Regions from separate parts of the Homo sapiens genome. Here region 1 is linked to region 2. Evidence: promoter capture Hi-C in 16 types of primary human blood cells and fetal thymus (Javierre and others, 2016). All regions are on one chromosome and are shown on one strand. The core of a region is centred on a gene start or on the middle of the fragment in contact, and the rest is flanking DNA. Distances in the headings are between cores, read along the strand shown. Region 1 overlaps MEF2C-AS1 (MEF2C antisense RNA 1). Region 2 holds the start of MEF2C (myocyte enhancer factor 2C).

What was found. Contacts are between HindIII fragments. The CHiCAGO score rates a contact against its expected background, and 5 or more counts as called.
Region 1: a fragment that was not itself captured here is called in contact with the fragment with the promoter of MEF2C in region 2 in 1 of 17 cell types (megakaryocytes); the score reaches 5.1 in megakaryocytes.

The regions. Positions count from the first base shown.
Region 1 is chr5:89,245,730-89,248,429 of GRCh38, reverse strand. The region is part of intron 7 of MEF2C-AS1 (MEF2C antisense RNA 1); the gene reads right to left. Among named protein-coding and RNA genes, the nearest start is that of LINC02161, 330 kb to the left of the region's middle. The HindIII fragment of the contact is 251 bases long and covers 1,220-1,470 here.
Region 2 is chr5:88,881,882-88,884,581 of GRCh38, reverse strand. MEF2C (myocyte enhancer factor 2C) reads left to right here and starts at 1,398. Exons shown (of 11, transcript NM_002397.5): 1 at 1,398-1,627. MEF2C-AS1 (MEF2C antisense RNA 1) reads right to left here and starts at 1,252. Exons shown (of 10, transcript NR_136219.1): 1 at 1,097-1,252. RefSeq lists an enhancer at 291-340. The HindIII fragment of the contact is 10,727 bases long and covers 1-2,700 here.

The DNA.
Region 1 (2,700 bases), core at 96-2,595, 360 kb before region 2:
CAGAGTGAGAAGAGTGAGAATAAGGCAGATTCATAATTAATTTACTCTATATTTATACCATAGTAGCTAGGAGCTGCTAACTATATGTATATATACATAAGATATATAAATATACATATATCATACATGTAGATATACAATGATTATATGTGTGTGTATATGTGTGTATGCATACATATACACATATATATAGTATCCAACCTTATATATAATGAGGAATAAACATCTCCCCTATAAATAGGTAATAGAAGAAGTCAGTCTTTCAAAAGAAATGAATCTCTAAGTCATCAGAATACACTCTGATTCAATTTATGGGAATTATGTATTCACTGAAAAAATTATGTCGTCAAGGGTTTTATTGACCCTTGACTACATAAGGTTTTTTGTATAAAATCAAGTATCCAGACTTCTAGGAAATAATGCATAACCACAGGATAACAATGATTATCTCAAAAATAAAGGACTATGAGAAATTAGAGGAGAGGGAGAATATGTCTGTCTGGGATGATTAGGAAATAATTCACTGAAGATGTGATAGCTGTGCTGGGAATTAAGAGTAAGCAGGATCTGAACAAGAATAGAAGAGAATGAAGAATATTTTTAGTTTCATGAGCATTGGTCTACAGAAGAAAAATGATAAAAATAAATATTGGGAACTGTGTCGGTCTTCAATGCTGTTCATCAATATCTGTTTTTCTTCTCCTGTTCCACATGTTCGGTTGCACTTTCTAGTTTCACTAACAATGAGTTAGGGCTATGTGACTAATTCTGGCCAGGGAGTTGTGAATTGAAGTGATGTTTATCACTTCTGTTCCATAATATTTAATTGCTAGTGCAAAACCCTCTAAAGTTATTTCCTACGTGATAGAGAGCAGCAACATTCAAGATGGTGGCTGTTCCCTTAGCCTGGGTCTTTGAGTGACTGCAGTGAACAGAGAACATTCTGGCTGGACTGAAATGACTACATCAATTGTGTAAGAAATAAACTTGTGTTATTTTGAGACACAACTTTTGGAGCAGCTTGTTACCACAATTTAACCTAGACTATACAAGCAAATAACAGAAAGAGCAAGATGTCCAATTTGACAGGCATATGAGGAATATTAAATAGAGAAATAATAAGTTTGAAGGGGTAAACAAATCAATTTGCAGAGAAGCAGAATTTCAGCTTAAAGGGTTTGGACTTTATTTTATAGGCAATGGAGAGCTGTTAAAAGCTTTCAAACAGGGAAATATGATGAACAGAATTGTGCTTTAGGAAAATTAATCAAGCAGGATAGAGGATGCCTAGGAAGCGGAAAGACACTTAGTAATATGAAAACAAGTTATACTATTGTGAAAAGCCTAGAAGTCATGGAGTTTAAACTAGGGTAGTGGCAGTGGGAACCAATTTGACAGAATGAATAGAACAGTAATTTGCAGGTCCTGGCAACTGATGAGACCCAAGGGACTTATAAATCATTCCAAGCTTTTGATCCTGGATGATTGCTAAGATGGTGCCACTGCCACTTACTTAAATAGGAAGCAGAGAAAGAGGAACAAATTTAAGAGGAAAAGTGCATACTTAGGTCAAGTGTGACATCCAACTAGCAATGTCTGGCAGACAACTGGAAACAAATCAAATATGGATTGGAGAGTTATTTGCAATATGAAGCCATGATATGAATGAGACTGTCAAGGAAGAAAGAAGAAAATTAAGAATATAACTTTGGGAAACACCTGCATTTACACAACAAAAAGGAGAAGAACAAAGATATCAAGAAAGGTGTACTTTCACAAAACCGAAAATCAAGAAAGCAGGAAATTTCAAGAAAATGAGGGTAATTAACAGCACCAAATGTAAGGATGGATTAAAAATGATGAGTATTTTTTAAAATCTAGTAGATGTGGTGACTTTTAATGGAGCAGTTTCAAGTGATAACTGCAGGAGGAAGCCAACATTCAAAAGATTGGGAAGTGAGTCATGCAAAAAAAAATTGAGGCTGTGGTTTCTTTATATGGTGGAAAATTACTTAGCAATTAAAATAAATGGACTAAATTATTACATAAGAAAACGTTCATTTCAAAAATACATTCAGTAAAAAAAGAAAATGGCAAAATTATACATACAATGTGATTCTACTTATTAAACATACAAATAATATACGCATATATTATTTATGAATACATGCATGTTATATGTGTATCTATATACATCATAAATACTAACACATGCATTGAGATAACTGTGAAAGTAAAATGTAACCTCTCCTTTAAAGATGTTAAATGGTGAAAGAAAAGAAAGAAATAGGTAGTACCTTGATAGATAAGGAGATAAGAAATACAACAAATGTTCACTAAATTTCCATATTAGATAGAGTCTTTTTGGCTTTTAATTTTTCAATATAAATTTATAGACAATGAAATAACTGCAATGAAGCAATCGTGTTTAATTTATATCCAGTTCTGAAGAAAGAAATATTTTCCTATTAGTAACATTTTATGATATGGCGTGTCACAGATAGATTTCTGACTTTGGAGCTATGTAAATGAAATCTGTGACTTTGAGGAAATTATGACCACAGCTTCAGCTTCTTATCTGTAGAGGAGAAGATAATAACTTCCACCTCAAATATTTTTTATAAAGACCAGGAATAACATAAGTTTCTAAGTGTGGTGTTTGTCACATAGAAAGCACTCAATAAATGGTAGTTGTTATTT
Region 2 (2,700 bases), core at 149-2,648:
GGGGAACTCCGAGGAAGCTGCTTCCTCGGTAAATATTTCCAAACTGATTAGAAAGTTCATGGCCCCGCGATGAAGTCGAGATCTCAAATACTGGTAATTATTTTATTATTTCGTACATTACTAACATTAGAGAAACCTTTCGGCTCGCTTTCTAGCGCTCCAACCTCTCAGGGTGAAAACCGCGACTTCTGGGCGTGCAGGAAAAGCACGCTGGAATCGAGTGCTGCAGACATCCTGGACCGTGGTTTTTACGCGTGAGTAACGGAGGAGCGCACCGACCGGTGGAAGAGAGAAGTGGCTAACGCGTGTCCAAAAGGGGGAAAAGTCACAAGAGCAACTATTAGGGTCGCGCTCCTATTGGTCAGAGGAAAGATCCCGACTTTAGAAGGACTTTCCTGCTGGCTGGCTCGCAGCGTCCCCGGAGAGCAAGCGAGCGCGCCGCAGCGGGAGACTAGGTTCTCTCCGAGCGTCCTCCGCAGAGGCGCCGCGAGAGGAGCAGGGAGCCGCAGCTCGCCGTGTTGTCTTCATTTCGTGCAATAAAGAATTGTCATTAGGTTTGCGTATGGCATGTGCTATTACCCCACCGTAAAACTAAAATTAGCAAAATGTCAGGAATGGAAAGATTGATTCACCAAGATGCAATTATCATTTAAAAGTGCTTGATTGAGGTACTGATGTTCAGTGATTTATTCTGCATACCATATACATAATTAAAGTAGTGTAGTGGAGTAATTTATCAATCTAGTTGAGACTGGAGGGGTGAGGAGGGAGCTGCTGTATGTTTGTTTTATTAAAATGCTCCGAGGTCTAGTCCCGCCCCCCTTTTGCAAGAGTGAAACTGATGATTTCTCCAGCTCGCGAGGAAAGAGTCAACGGTTTGGGATTGTGGGGGAGAGAGAGACGGAGAGAAAAAGGCAGCGCGAAGCAAAGGCAAGGACAAAATTAAATAAAGGGGGAAAAAAGGAGGCAAAAGACATTTCATCGGACGTGCTGCTTAGAACCCCAACCATTCGTGCTCCGTCTTCCCTACCACCCCCGCCTCCCCTCCCAGTATCCTTCAATCCCCCCCGCCCCCACCACCCCCAGTCTTTTTTACGCGATGTTTCAAACGCTGTGAGCTGTTCTCCTTTTCCCATTCGTCTTCTGTCACTTCCTTCCTGGACGCAGTTTTCTGGACGAGTCTGGTTACTTTTAATCCGACCGGCCGCTGAGAGCCACTTTCTCCTCCTCCTCCTCCTCCTCCTTCTCTTCCTCCTCCTTCTTCCTCCTCCTCCTCCTCTTCCGAGCGGCCTCGGCGCGCGCGAATGCGCGGCCCCGCGCCCCCCCCCTCGCGCGCGCTCCCCTCGCGCGCGCGCACACACGCACACATCGTCTCCAGCTCTCTGCTCGCTCTGCTCGCAGTCACAGACACTTGAGCACACGCGTACACCCAGACATCTTCGGGCTGCTATTGGATTGACTTTGAAGGTTCTGTGTGGGTCGCCGTGGCTGCATGTTTGAATCAGGTGGAGAAGCACTTCAACGCTGGACGAAGTAAAGATTATTGTTGTTATTTTTTTTTTCTCTCTCTCTCTCTCTTAAGAAAGGAAAATATCCCAAGGACTAATCTGATCGGGTCTTCCTTCATGTAAGTACCCCTGATATTTCTCGAGGAAATAGAAAACCCGGGTATTGTCTCTAAAATCTGCATCAATATATTCCACGGCACTGTGTCTATCTATCCCTGTGCCTTTTTTGAAGGCTGAAGTTGAGGCTCGTTGTGCATTCTTTTTCGTTAGATTCCATGATTTCCTTGTTTGTTGCTAAAAGTAACTTTTTAGATAGTCGTATCCGTTTGCCATCAGCTATTGAAATCACTCCTGACTCGTTCCTGTCACACCAGTGTATTTAAAGTTTCATGAAGTTAGTTCACGTCATTAGCATGTTTGATATGGTGGAGCGTGTGGAGCCTGGTGGATTTTAATATTTCACAGCATGTTCTGTGACCTTGAAGTAGACGCCTTAAGATTTAGCAGTTAGTTCACTGTGGAAAGATGCTCCCATGAGTCCCCCCAAAGACACTGATTTGCCCTGGGTTATGCTTCTGAGCCACTAATTCTTGGGATTAGTTTGACCTAAAGCATGGCTGTCTGTCAGAGTATACCTTTGTGCATTTCCTTCCCTCACCAAAGTGCCGGCTTGACAGAGGGCTTCTTAATTGGTGTGGACAAAAAGTAATATCCCTGCCATAGTAGTCTACACATTTCACAATTCACGTTCGATTTCAGCATATGGATTGCTGTTCAGGTCAAGTCAAATACATAGCTGTTTAAAAGCAAGCAAGGTTAAGTCACTTAAATTGCCTTCTCTTTGGACTTGGAATGAAAGTTACCAAACTCGATGATAAAGTTTGTCACAAAGGAAGTATATATAGATGTGGCACATTGTTTATTTTATTATTAAATATTGTGGAAGTATTTAAATTTAATGCTAATGTTACCTTCCTTCCCTGAACATGGCTATTGCTTTTTAAAGGAAATTTTATATCTGAATCACTTCTGACTATTCTAAGTCCAGTAGTTATCATTCTTTGGGGAGAGCCTTTTTTTGTCACATTTTAGGAATGCGTGTCTTTTGTATAAAATACTTTATATGTAAATGCTGACAGTAGACTAAGTAGAATTGGGCTCTCTGCCAGTTCCTTAACCGGTCCTCAGTGGA